Linked DNA regions of Homo sapiens: regions 1, 2 and 4 are each linked to region 3. Evidence: promoter capture Hi-C in human tissues and cell types (Jung and others, 2019). All regions are on one chromosome and are shown on one strand. Each heading gives the region's core, a stretch centred on a gene start or on the middle of the fragment in contact. The rest is flanking DNA. Distances are from core to core; before and after follow the strand shown. Region 1 has its middle 42 kb from the start of MIR4472-1. Region 2 has its middle 110 kb from the start of MIR1302-7. Region 3 holds the start of TSNARE1 (t-SNARE domain containing 1). Region 4 has its middle 170 kb from the start of MIR1302-7.

Region 1 (3,485 bases), core at 204-2,703, 270 kb after region 3:
TTTCACGGTGAGCAAATCGTCGTGGCCCTGGCGAGATGCGACGAGTGCTTCCCTGCTCTTCAAGTGGGAGATGCGGAAGCGGCGCTGGGAAGAGAGCACGGCCTGGCTTCGGAGCTTAGGTTCCGGAGGAGCGGCTGGGTGGATGGAGTGCTGAGGACAGTCGGGCAAGGCCACAGGTGGAAAGCGCCAGCGGGGCGGGGCCCTCCTCAGATGGGTAGCGAGCGGGACACGGCTTTCTGCGGAGGGCACCTGGGCTGAGCGCTGAGTGACAGGAAGTGAGCCGTGCAGAGGTCTGGGGAGAAGGGCTCCAGGAAGCCAGGGCAGCACATGCCAAGGCCCTGGGGCAGGAGGCCCTTGTGTTCATTCAGGACAAGGAGGGAACAGGGCCTAGGTGTGAAAACATCTGTGACGTGGGGGCTGTGGCTGGCCAAGTCCCGGGCCTGGGACCTCGTCATTGACATACAGTCCAGGGCGGGTAGTGCTCACGGGGCCATGGGAGGGCAAGGCAGAGGTGGCCGTGTCCCGTACCGGGGTGGTGCTGGACCAAGCCCAGGATCTGCCATGGGCGCCAAAGGCCTCTCTGGCCAGGCAGCAAGGGCGTCTCAGGGAGGGGCAGGAGGGCCGGCACCCCAGGCCTGAGTGGGAGTGGGGCTCTGGTCAGCGGGCCAGCCCCAGAGGGCCCCAGGTGAAGGCTGCTGTAGGTTTGGGGAGTACAGCAGTGCTGCTGGGACAGCAAAGGGGAGAAGAGGCCACAGGAGGGCCAGGACCCAGGGGAAGCAGGTTCTGATGACCGAGAGGAGGCACTGTCCTTCAGGAGGTCGGGCCACGGGAGGCCGGCCAGCCCTGTGCAGGGGTGGGGGCTGCCCAGTAGCCTTGTCTTTCTCTCCTCTCTCTGTCTCTTTCTCTCTGTCTCTCTCTTGCAGCCTTTGCGCATGGGCTGTTGCTTCTCCCTGATGTCAGGAAGGTGCCGTCCCTTTCCTCCAGGGCTTCCAGTGCCCCTGAGGTCGCCTTGCTGAGAGCGCCCAGGGTTCATGGGTGTGTGCGTGTAATGTGTGCATGTGTGTGTGTGTGTGTGTGTGTCTGCTGCTGGAGTGTGTGTGTGTGGTGTGTGCGTGTCTGTGTCTACTGCTAGAGTGTGTGTGTGTGGTGTGTGCGTGTCTGTGTCTGCTGCTACTTTGGAAGAGTCCACAGTCTGTGCTGCCTGCACAGTTCAAGCTCTAATTATCAGATATGGTTAATTACACAGAGCTGTCATCCATTTGTTTTTAAGGATCCAGAAACCTGGAGCCTTGGCCATGCTGAGCCCTGATCTGCTATCTGCATTGAAAGCGCTTGGGGACCTGTGATTTCTGGCTCACTTTGGCCAGAAAGGGTTAATTCTGGTGAATGCACAAGCTCTTGCCTAGTCATTCTGGGGCCTCCCAGCAGAGCCCGCTACATGGGGCCTCCTCCAGCTCCTCAGAGGCCCGGCCTCGGGGTTCCTGCGCTGGCTGTTCCCTCTGTGGAACGCTCTTCCCTCAGTGTTAAGGGTGAGACCCCAGCTGCCTGGTTGTGGAGTCGGGGCTTCAGATGGAAATCGAGCCCCAGAGCTGGGAGGAGGGGGAATGCCCCATCTAGGAACAGCCACACCTGGAGGTCCCCAATTCTAATAATGATAAATAACTTCTGTGATGTCACCCACAAATGGATGATGACAGATCGGAACTAAAGGTTTATTTTCCTGCTAAAGAGAGACACTGTCACCAAAGCAAGACGTCACAGGTGGCTGAACTGACATGGGAAAGCTGCAGTCCCTTGGGGTTAGAGAATTCCAGGTCCACGGCTCAGACCGGTTCTGTGCAGAGCCAAATGGCCCGTGCACGCGGGTCCTGGTGGCCTTGGGTCTCTTAGCCTGCACCACGGCTCTGACACAGCAGGTGAGCAGAGGGGGCACCCAGGGTGAGAAAGCTTAGAATACTCGCGGCTGGAAGCCACGCCCCACGCCATCCCGCCTTCAGATATGTCCAGTCTGACCACTTCCTCCCAGGCCTCTGTCCCCCCAGGCTGAGTCCCCAGCATACCTCTCCTGGACTGTGGCAGCAGCTTCTGTCTGGGCTCCTTGGCCATCACCTGTCCCCAGCAGCCAGCGTGCTCCAGCCAAGCATCAGGCCAGGGCTCTCCTGCTCCACCCTTGCCATGAGGGCCACCTTCCCTGGCTCCCTGGCTCACAGCCCCTTCCCATGACCCCGAACTTGGCCCCCACTGTTGACCCCTGGGTCCCTCCATATGGGCCTTAACCATACGGAGTCTACTCAGCCATGGCCCCTGCATTTTCTTCCCCAGCTCACGTGGCCAGTGCCTTCTCCACCTCCAATCCTCAAATGTACCCCAGCCCTCCCCAGCCCCCCAGCCCTCCCCAGCCCCCCAGCCCTCTGGGCAGCTCCCTGGCTGTTTTTTCCACACCAGGTGTCCCCTCTGACATATGAGGTGATTTCCCCACATGCTGTGTGTCCTGCACCATCTGACCCTCTGTGGGATGTCACCTGTTTTGGTCTGAGTGTCTGGAAGAGCGCCGTGTGCTACAGAAGTCCACATGTGTGGTCCAGAACAGAGCACCGCCACCTGCAAAGGGTAGACGTTTCCCGTTTCTAGAGAGGGAGGTCTGGAGTGAGTCTCTGAGGCCCCTGCAGGGACTGTTCTAAGTAGGTAGCTGCCAAAGCCACTCCCCTGCTCAAGAACCTTCTATGGCTCCCCTGGACTCACAGAATAAGGCCAGAGCTTTCTTCCCGGCTCAAGGCCCTTCCCGAGCCTTCAAAGGAACTGCTTAGGCTTGCCAAGCCTCAGCTCTCTCATCCATAAAATGGGGACCAACACCACCCACTATTTACTGCCCTGGCCCCACCTGAGCCCCGGCTCTCCAGCTGTCCCCACCCCCACCCGGGGTGCTCCTCAGACTGTCCTGCCGGACTGGCTGTGCCCTCCAAGCTGCAGCCGCAGACATTTCTGCAAACTCCATTCACTTCTCTGGCGTCTCCTGTATCCGTCTGTCTTTTCTGAGCCTCAGCTGGAGCGCTGTCTTTCAGAGGATGCTGCCTGGTTCTCCGGCCATCTGTGGGGCAGCTCTCTCCGCAGCTCTGCACCACGCCTGGGCCCCTCAGCCATTCTGTGCTAAGCCCGACCTCGGGGCACCACACGGGAACCCAGAGGAGCCAGGGTGATGCAGGGTCTGTCCTGACTCCAGGAGCCGAGAGTCCCGTGGATTCGGTCAGGCTGACATTCCTCACGGCTGCGTGCAGCGTGTCCTGGGAGCTTCACAGACATGAACTCACCGAATCCACACCTTGAGCCTCAGGCTGCCAGGCCTGGTGGACGCTGCCAGTCCGCATTTCACAGATGACAGAGCTGAGGCCCGGGGAGACGAAGCAATTCCTTGGAGCGGTGGCTTTCGCTTCCCCAGCCGGGCAGTGCCCTGCCCCCTACTCAACCTGCCTGTCACCAAGCCTCTG
Region 2 (3,399 bases), core at 609-3,108, 500 kb after region 3:
GCCTTGGCACAGTGTAGGGGGAGGCTGGGCCGAGGATGCAGGAGCCTGGGAAGGAGGGCCCGGCCCTACCATTGCGGGCGTGTGGAGCCCAGTCACCCACCCTCGGGACTGTTCCCTTTTGGATCTGTGGAGAGCACTCAATCCTCCTCCTCGGACCACAGGTGGAGGCCGGGGGAAAGCGAGGGGCCTCCCCGAGTGCAGCACTGGCTTCTCGGTTGGCAGAGGTGGTGGCTGGTTGGGGAGCTTTCCATCTGAGGGCCCAGGAAGAGAATTCTGTCTGCCGCCTGTGGGCAGAGTGACTTTGCACACGCCACCTGTTTGATTGTCAGCGTCCACCCCGTTCAGGGTTTGGCTAGGGGTGGATACAATGCTAGATGGGCAGTGCCTGGCGCATAGCAGGTTTATAACAACTGTGGGGTTTCTGGGCTGTTCCCGGCACTCAAGCCTGGTGGGATTTCTGTTGTTGCAAAAAAAATCAAGTTTAACAGTGATGCTTGAGAAATGATAGGCCAAGAAAAACTTCAGTTCCTCAACTGCAGGATATGTGTGGCCTTTCATACTATACATGCGTCGTGAACAACTAGGCCATACTGTAGGCCCTTCCCAGCTGCCCTACAGATGGAAGGGGATGCTGCTTCTCCACACTGAGCACATCAGGAGACACGAGCAGGCACACACCCATACACTCACATGCTGACACACTCGCACTCACACATTGCACACTCACAGAGATACACACATCAACATGCTCACCCACACACACAAAACATGCTCTCACACACACAGTCTCACACACACTCTCCCTTGCTGACACACACACCACACACTCACACATACACATACACCAACATGCTCACACACACACAAAACATGCTGTCACACACATAGCCACACATGCACTCTCTCATCCTGAAACACCCCACACACACTCACTCACCCATGCTGACACTCACATGCTGACACATTCTTCACACGTACACACCACACACTCTCTCACACACGCATTCACATGTACACATACTGTGTTAGGGTTCTCTAGAGGGACAGAACTAATAGGATAGATGTATATAAAGGGAACCTCAAAAGCAGGGAAGGAGACGGTGCACTTCAGTCTGTGGCCGAAGGCCCCAGAGCCCCTGGCAAACCACTCCTTTGGCGACACCCTCACAGACACACCCAGCAACAATACTTCGCATCCTTCAATCCAATCAAGTTTACACTTAGTATTAACCATCATAGATACCAACATGCTCACAACACACTGTCTCCCACACACCACACACACTCACAGACACCACACTGTCTCCCACACACTCACACACACCAACATGCTCACATACATGCACAGCACACTGTCTGCCACACACACTCACACAAAACAGTCTCACACACACACACCACACTGTCTCATACACACAACACACTGTCTCACACATACTCACACAAACACACACCATGCTCACATACATTCACAATACACTGTCTCCCACACACACTCACACAAAACACACTCTCACACACACACCACACTGTCTCATACACACAACACACTGTCTCACACATACTTACACAAATGCACACCAACATGCTCACATACATTCACGACACACTGTCTCCCACACACACTCACACACAACACACTGTCTCCCACACACTCACACCAACATGCTCAAAACACAGTCTTCCACACACACACACACCAACATGCCCACAACACAGTCTCCCACACACACTCACACCAAGTTCAAATCACACACACACTATCTCCTACACACTTACACAAAACACACTGTCTCCCACACACTCACACACACCAACATGCTCACATACATTTATGACACGCTGTCTCACACGCACACACAAACACACTGTCTCCCACACACTTACACATACACAGCAACATGCTCATGCACACACAAAACATACTCTCACACACTGACACACACATCACACCACACATTCTCCCACACACACACTCACACAGTCACACACACACATTCTGTCACACACCACACACTCTCCCACACACTCACACATAGACACACTGTCACATGTATGCTCTCCACACACTCACACAGACACACAAAGGCATGCGAGCACACAGTTGCGGGAGTGAGCGTGCAAACCTTGTAGCCCCGTGTGATGGTGTTAGGAGAAAGGGCCTGAGGTCCTGGGGACGGAGCCCTTGTCAGTGGGCTGAGTGTCCTTAGAGGAGGCCAGAGCTTCCCTCCCCCTCCCCTCATATGAGGACACAGCCTGAAGGCGCCGTCTGTGAACCGGGAACATCAGCCCTCCCCAGACACGGAACCCGCCCTGGTCTTGGGCGTCCGGGCTGCAGAGCCGTGGGAATGCAGGCCGGGTTTTTGGATCCCACCCAGTCCGTGGCACATGGCTAGAGCAGTCGGATGGACTGAGACCCCGTCCCCCAAGATCCATACCCCGTTACCGCTCAAGGTCTCATCCAGGGGCAACACCGGCCACCCCACACTTTTCGTTCCCCTTGTCCTTTTCTGTCTCTCGGGATGATCACAAAGATGAGTGACAAGCGTTTTGCTTTTCATTTCCAAGAACTGGTGAAACGTAAACAGGCGGCACAACTGCCAAGGCGCCTGTCCCCGGTCGGTTCGTCTGTAATTAAAACTCGCTCAGTGCAGCCGCCTCCTCCCCGAAACTTTTACAAATCTCCTGCGTGCTAATGAGGATACCGGCTAATTACTTGCCAGATGATTAAGAAATCATACTGGGACAATTGATGGGTCTCTGCAGGGAGCCGTCAGTTGCTTCTCCGGCCTCTCATCCTGCTCACAGTTTCCCTTCAAGAGGATGGCACTGACATCCCCCCAGGAAGGCTCAGGACCCAGCCGCAGGGCGGGCACAGCCTCTGCTGCAGGGATGCAGTGCGAGCTTCAGTATGCACCGGGTTCATCCCCCAACGCCTGTGGAAACGCATGGGCCCCCCGCTCCTGGAGGATCCATGGTGCCTTCGCTGGACAATATCACCTTGGCTTCTCTCATTTCCAGCAAGTTCCAGAGCTGGGACGGGGCCCTGGCGATGTGCTTTAGCTCTTTCTTTGGGCCTGGCTTCCTTGATGGACAGCAGCTGGCCCGATCACTAGCTGCTGCTGTCTGGGAGACAAGGCCAGGTGGTTGGAGGGGCTGGCAGGGAACCAAGTTCAATTCACAAGGGTTGTGTGCAGGAGGCTCAGGCAATGGGATGGAGGCTCAGGGTGGAGACACTAAGAAGGAGTCAGAGAAAGAGCACAGTGCTGTGGAGGGTGGCTGTCCAGACCTGCCCAGGATGCCAGCAGGTGAGGCTGGGCTGCACCCTGAGCCACCCAGGGCAGGGGAAGGTGGCCGCAGGGGGTCCCGGCCCGGGAGGGTAGAGAGATAGAGGTCATA
Region 3 (3,262 bases), core at 277-2,776:
GCAGTCATGGGCATCCTCCCTGGTTAGGAGCCGGCTTCCCTGCACTCTAGCTGTCCTAGCCGAAGAGTGAAGCCCTGTCCAAATCATGGCGAGGCTGCAAGACAGGCACACACTACTGCCTCCTGGGAGCCCAGGGGAGACTGAAATACACCAAGGCAAGGAGCGTGGGTGGGCCCAGGACAGGCCGGCCTGAGCACCAGCCCAGGAATGCTGGTGGGCATGTGCCCCTCTTCCCTCCCACCCATGTGTGCACACATTTGTGCCATATACTACCGTTCCCATGTTTGCGCCTGGGCACACACTTGTGCCAGCATACACACACTTGTGCACTTGCACCTGGTGTCCAGGAACACTCCCTCAGCTCACAGACGTGCGCTGTGTGCACACAGTACCACGCAGTGTCCACGAGCACACTTTTGTGTTCGTGTTCACAGAACCCGTGTGCGCACACATGCACAGTCCTGGGCTGCAGAGAACCCCAGCCAGCGGGGCGGTGGGGGAAGGGGAGGGCACGCCTCCTTCCCAGGAGCTCAGCAAGGCTGTCCGCGGGAGCCCAGGGCTGCCCGCAGGGCTTTGGCGTAGGCCTCGCAAGCACAGCAAGCATCACAGAGTGAGGGCGGCGGGAGAACCTCCGCTTGCCGGAGAAGGTGCAGCGGACTCATCACTCTTGCTCTCCTGCCTTGGGTGTGACTCTTGGTTCACCTCTGGGGAAACAGGCTGAAAGGTGACCCTGGCGGCCCAAGGACACACACCCATTGTCCGCAGGTTCCTCCCAGGTGTCTTCTCCAGCAGGTCACCGGGAGAGCGAGGGGCTGGAGTCTTTCGGGAGCTCAGTGCCCGCAGGCAGAGCAGGGAAAGGGAGGCGCCCCAGGCCCCTGCGGAAGGAGGTCCCAGGAGGGTCTCCGCAAGGGGCTCCCTACTCTGCACTTCAGCTCCTCCAGGGAGGGGCTGCGACCTCGGGCAAAGGTCCCTCAGATGTCTTGAGACTCAGTTTCCTCGTTGGTGACACTGGGAGTCCGGAGTCCCCGCGGGGCCTGCCAGCCCCCGGCCGAGCACGGCCCCACGCGGAGCCCGTGCAGCCTGACTTGGGGCCCAACGCCCGTCCCCGCAGCGCGAGACGCGCAGGTGCCCGGCCCTGCCCTGGCCGAGACCCGCCGCCTGCGCAGCCCCGCAGAAGCTCCAGCTTTGGCCCGTGTGAGGTCCGGGCTCGGCCTGGGCTGGGCGGAGCCCGCTCCCGAAGCGCCTCAGCGCCGGGCCGCCGCCCTCCACGTGACCTCCACCTTCGCCGTCATCCCCATATGCAAAACGGGGAAACGGGGAAACGGAGGCCCACCACCAGGCAAGTGAGGACAGCCGACTCGCGCGCGCACCCGCAGAGGCCTCTTGGCCCAGCCGACCGCCGTCCGCGCCGCTTCCGGCTCCGCGCCGGGGCCTCTGGGGCGGGTAGTCCCCGCGCGCGTCCGGGACCGGCGGCCATTGGCTGGTGCGGGAGGGGGCGCGCACGCCGGCGGCGGGAGGGGCCGTCACGTGATGTTTGGGTGCCCGCCCCGCCCGCCTCGCCCGCCGTGAGCGCCCGGAGCGGTCCGCGAGCCACCGAGGCCCAGGTGAGGCGGCGGCGGTGGGGCTGGGGCCTGGCCGGGGCCGGGCGTGGGGCGGCGAGGGCGAGGCGGCCGGGGACCAGCGCGGGGCCCGGAGCCCGGCGGGGGCCGCGGCGTGGCGTGGTATGGGGCTTGCGGGAGGCCGGGCGGGGGGCGGGGCCGCGCCGGTGGGGAGGGGAGGGGGCGGGACCGTGCCGGGGGTGGACCCCAGGGGCGCCAGGGACCCTGAGCCGCAGCCCCGCGAGAGCGCCGCATTTCGGGGACCGGCCCGCGGGCACATGAGCCCCTCGGCGGGTCCTCGCGCGCTGTTCAGACCCCAGGTCGGTGGGCTCTGGGCCGGGCAGCCGGTGCCTGCGCCTGGAGGTCAGTGCCGTCCCGGGGAGCGCCCCAGCGCCTACTTGCTGGGTGCAAGGGTTGGTGCCCTGCAGCTCAACGAGCGGAGCCCGCCTTCGAGCCTGAGCTGGGGACCCCGTTCCTGTGTGCTTGCCTCTCCATGCCTTTCTGTCCCTTCTCCAAGTTGTAAGAAGGTGCTTCCTGGGTACTGGGGCCTGCGACATCCCCACCAGGGACTTTCAGGTGATGTTGATCTGTGCTGCCCCCGCAGAAACTCTCCAGGGACCTCGTGTTTGTTGCCTCATGGCGCACTCCTCCTGCTCTGGAAGCTCTGCCATGTCCAGTGTGGTAGCCCCTAGGCATGTGTGGCTGTTTACATTGTCCTTAACGTGAAGGATTCAGGTCCTCCGTGCCAGTGGTCACATGTCCGACACTCAGTAGCCACACGTGTCTGGTGGCGGCTGTGTGGGGCAGCGCGGGTAGGGAACACTGCTTATCACAGGAAGTTCTGTGAGCGGTGTGGTGCGGCTCAAAATGGGCCTCGCGCGTGCTGCTCCGCCGGTGCTTCTCCGCCCCTCATCCTGCCAGGTGCCTTTCCAGCCACACCTGGCGCCCTTTCTTTCCTCTGCTGCACACTTGCCTCTTCTTTTAGTTCCTGGCTCGCTCCTGGCTTGGGGGCAGCTCCGCTTCCGGTATGTCTGAGCTCACCTTTCTGACCGCTCTCCCTACAGTATTTCTTGTTTGTCATTGTCACTCATCTGCTTGTTTTCTGTTTTATCTTTAGTGCCTGTGAGACAGGGGTGGGGATTGTTGCTTAGGATACTCCCAGTGTGGACACAGTATTGAGTTGAAAGAAAGCTGAAGTTTGTTAGTACTGGAGTGCTTCCCCCGACTGAACCGCTGCTTTCATACCGTTCGACCCCATACATCACAGGACCGCAGCAGAAATCTGGTAGAACAAATGTTTGGACACAGCAGCACAGGCCGTGAATGCAGGTGGCTGTGGGAGGCTGGCAAATCCAAGACGACTTCCTGGAGGAGGTTGAGTTTTGGCTGGGTCACCTCTGTTTCTCTCCTCCTCTGCTGGCCTGGCCCCATGAACATCTGGCAGCCTCTGGCTGCTCTGACTCTATCCAGGAACCTTCCCTGGACACTTCCCCTGAGTCTGGCCTTCTGTAGATGCTGGGTCAAGAGCCTAGACCTAGGCACTCAGTCTAGGGGCTCATGGGCAGCCAGGTGTCCCTAAGTCTCTTCCACAGCTCCTCATGGCCTGCAGAGCGAGGTCCTGGGTTTGGCTCCTGCCAGCAGCTCCTGCCACATCTTCAGTCCCT
Region 4 (3,628 bases), core at 107-2,606, 450 kb after region 3:
ACTTCCTCAATCCAGCATTTTCTTCTTCAATTTCCAGCCCCGCTGGAAGTCCTAAACATGGATTCCTGATTCCCCAGCCCGGTGAGACTGCTGCTTTCTTGTCCTCTAATCTTCTTGGGCCCTGCAGACGGGAAATTCCCTCAGGAGAATAGCCAGATGCACATAAAACTTACCCAGATTAAACCCCTTATCTCAGGAGCTGTGTCTCTCCTCCAGATTCTGCCTGTTTAGTCACTCTCCAGTGCCTCCCAACAGTTATTTTGATGTCTTACCCAGAGCTTATACATGCAGAGATTGGACATGTTGCAGGTTTGGTTCCAGACCACCACAATACAGTAAATATCACAATAAAATGAGTCACAGTTTTTTTGGTTTCTCTGTACATATAAAAGTTATATTTAGACCATCCTTGAGTCTACTAAGCGTGCAATAGCATTATGTCTAAAAATGTACATACTTTAATTTAAAAATACTTGATTGCTAAAAATGCTGATGATCCTCTGAGCCTTCAGGGAGTCATCATATTTTTGCTGGTGGAGGATCTTGCCTGGGTGATGTTGGCTGCTGATGGATCAGGGTGGAGGTTGCTGAACACTGAAGTGGCTGTGTCAGTTTCTTAAAATAAGACAATAGTAAAGCTGGCTGCATCAATCAACTCTTTCTTTCACAAAAGCTTTCCCAGTAGCATGAGGTAGCAATTGACCCATGGTAGAACTTCTTTCAAAATTGGAGCCAACCTTCTCAAACCCAGCCACTGCTTTCTCAACAAAGCGTATGGAATATTATAAATCCTTTGTTGTGATTTCAACAATGTCCACAGCATCTTCACCAGGGGTAGATTCCATCTCAGGAAACCACTTTCTTTGCTCATCCATAAGAAGCAGCTCGTCATCTGTTCAGATTTGATCATGAGATTGCAGGAATTCAGTCACATCTTCAGACTCCACTTCTAATTCTAGTTTTCTTGCTATTTCCACCATATCTACAGTTCCTTCCTCCACTGAAGTCTGAAATCCCTCAAAGGGTTGGAATCAACTTCTTCCAAACTATTAATATTGACATCTTGGCCTCCTTCCATGAATGACAAATGTTCTTCATGACAGAAATCTATCTGTGGCATCTGTAGTATTACAAAATGTATTTGTTAAATAAGAAGAAAGTTGAGATGACTCCTTGATCCAGGGCTGTAGAAGGGATGTTGTCCTAACAAGCATAAAAATAGCAAAACAACGTTCATCTCCTCGTACATCTCCATCAGACCTTTTTTTTTTTTTTTTTTTGGACAGAGTCTCACTCTGTCTCCCAGGCTGGAGTGCAGTGGCATGATCTTATCTCACTGCAACCTCTGCCTCCCAGGTTCAAGCAATTCTTGTGCCTCAGCCTCCCGAGTAGCTAGAATTAATTACAGGCATGTGCCACCATGCCTGGCTGATTTTTGTATTTTTAGTAGAGGTCGGGTTTCACCAAGTTGGTCAGGCTGGTCTTGAACTCCTGACCTCAGGTGATCCACCTACCTGGGCCTCCCAAAGTTCTGGGATTACAGGCATGAGCCACCATGCCCGGCCTCCATCAGAGCTCTTGAGTGACCAGGTGAACTGTCACATTAGTATTTGGAAAGTAATCTTTTCTTCTTTTTTTTTTTTTTCTGGGCAATAAGTCTTAACATTAGGCTTAAAATATTCAGTAAACCATGCTGTAAACAGGTTTGTCATTCAAATGTTGTCATTCAGCCTTGTTGTTCCATGTCTAGAGCACAGGCAGAGTGGATTTAGCATCATTCTTAAGGGCCCTAGGATTTGCATAATGGGAAATGAGCATTGGCTTCAGTTTAAAGTCACCAGCTGCATTAGCCCCTCACAAGGGAGTCAGCCTGTCCTCTGAAGCTTTGAAGCCAGGCATTGACTTCTCCCCTCTAGCTGTGAAAGTCCTAGATGGCATCTTCTTCTAGTAGAAGGCTGTTACATCTACTCTGAAAATATGTTGTTTATTGTAGCCACCTTCATGTTTATTGTAGCCACCTTCCTCAATGATCTTAGCTAGGTCTAACGGACGTCTTACTGCAGCCTCTCCACAAGCGCTTGCTGCTTCGTCTTGCACTTTTGTGTTACAGAGTCAGCCTCTTTCCTTAAACCTCATGAATCAACGTCTGCTAGCTTCAGGCTTCTCTTCTGCAGCTTCCTAACCTCTCTCAGCTTTCACAGAATTGAAGAGAGCTAGGGCCTTGCTCTGGACTAGGTTTTGGCTTAAGGGAATGTTGTGGCTGGTTTGATCTTCTGTCCAGACCACTCAAACTTCCACCATCTCAGAAAGAAGGCTGTTTCACTTTCTTATCATTTGCGTGTTTTCTGGAGCCGCACCTTTAATTTCCTTCAAGAGGTTTTTCTTTACATTCACAACGTGGCTGTTTGGCCCAAGAAGTGCAGCTTTTGGCCTATCTCAGCTTTCAACCTGCTTTCTCACTAAGCTGAAGCATTTCTAGCTTTTGATTGGAAGTGAGAGAAGTGTGACTCTTCCTTTCATCTGAACATGAGGCCATGGCAAGGTTATTAATTAGTCTAATTTCAATATTGTTGTGTCTGAGGGAACACAGAGGCCCTAGGAGAGGGAGAGAGATGGGGAGACGACTAGGAGAGCAGTCAGGAGACACACAACATTTATTGGTCAAGGTCATAGTCTTTCATGGGCACAATTCATGGTGCCCCTAAACAATTGCAATAGTAACATCAAAGATCACTGTTCACAGATCACCATAAAAGGCATAATTTAAATGTTCGAAATATTGCAAGAATTACCAAAACCTAAGAATTACAGAAATAACACAGAGACCTGAAGCGAACCCATGCTCTTGGGAAAATGGCACAGACTTGCTCAGCGCAGGGTTGCCACAAACCTTCCAGCTTTGAAAATCGTAGTATCTGGCAAGTGCAATCAAATGGGGTTCTCCTGTGATGATTTCTGGTGGGAAGGTTCGTCCAATGTAAGCCCCTTCCCATTTGGCAAAGCTGTGATGTTCTCATGCATTCTTCTTTCGCATATGTGTGAATCCTACTGTTTTTCATTATTATCCACATATTTGCCCTCTTCGTTCTTCTCATTGCCCTTCCCAATTACCCTGCTTACATTGCAGATAGTTTTCTTCTGAACTGGGAAAGCTTTCCAGAGAATTTTATAGGCAACTTGATGTACGCTAAGCTGCTTGGCAGCCCCGGCTTATGACACCTCAGGGAACTTCCCCACACAGCGGACCAGAGCCATGCTCTCTCCAGTGAGGTCTGGATTGCAGATGTGGGTCCCCTCTTCCAGATGCCTTCCTCACTCAGTGGCACCACCACAGTCCCTGGGGTAGGGCTCTCCCTGCAGCTTTTATCCCTGTGCTATTTGCTGTTCTCTTTGCACCCTGGTAGGAGGTCCTTGGTATCAGATACTGATTCTTTCTGTTAATATTTCTCGGTTCAGATTTATGGTTTCTGTCTCCTACAGGGGTTCTGGCTTAGAGCATTCTTAGTTTCAATTATTGTATGTTTGAGTTGTTATTCTTCCCAGTTGTGGGGTAAGATTCTCAGTTTGATTATGTATTTTCTTGAATTATTACATTTTTGTTAAAGTCTCTGTCTAAAAACTGCAAAAT

The links. Contacts are between HindIII fragments. The study calls those that stand out against the background at their distance.
Region 1: a contact is called between a fragment that was not itself captured here and the fragment with the promoter of TSNARE1 in region 3, in 4 of the 25 tissues and cell types used here (H1 embryonic stem cells, lymphoblastoid cells, mesendoderm cells and 1 more).
Region 2: a fragment that was not itself captured here is called in contact with the fragment with the promoter of TSNARE1 in region 3 in 4 of the 25 tissues and cell types used here (H1 embryonic stem cells, IMR-90 fibroblasts, dorsolateral prefrontal cortex and 1 more).
Region 4: a contact is called between a fragment that was not itself captured here and the fragment with the promoter of TSNARE1 in region 3, in 4 of the 25 tissues and cell types used here (IMR-90 fibroblasts, bladder, dorsolateral prefrontal cortex and 1 more).

What each region holds. Positions count from the first base shown.
Region 1 is chr8:142,132,886-142,136,370 of GRCh38, reverse strand. No RefSeq gene overlaps it. Among named protein-coding and RNA genes, the nearest start is that of MIR4472-1, 42 kb to the left of the region's middle. RefSeq lists an enhancer at 2,818-3,379. The HindIII fragment of the contact is 9,774 bases long and covers 1-3,485 here.
Region 2 is chr8:141,899,451-141,902,849 of GRCh38, reverse strand. No RefSeq gene overlaps it. Among named protein-coding and RNA genes, the nearest start is that of MIR1302-7, 110 kb to the right of the region's middle. The HindIII fragment of the contact is 8,163 bases long and covers 1-3,399 here.
Region 3 is chr8:142,401,446-142,404,707 of GRCh38, reverse strand. It overlaps TSNARE1 (t-SNARE domain containing 1), which reads left to right and starts at 1,526. Exons shown (of 14, transcript NM_145003.5): 1 at 1,526-1,604. RefSeq lists silencers at 628-677, 1,118-1,687, 1,828-1,967 and an enhancer at 621-1,396. The HindIII fragment of the contact is 11,624 bases long and covers 1-3,262 here.
Region 4 is chr8:141,950,257-141,953,884 of GRCh38, reverse strand. No RefSeq gene overlaps it. Among named protein-coding and RNA genes, the nearest start is that of MIR1302-7, 170 kb to the right of the region's middle. The HindIII fragment of the contact is 4,956 bases long and covers 1-3,628 here.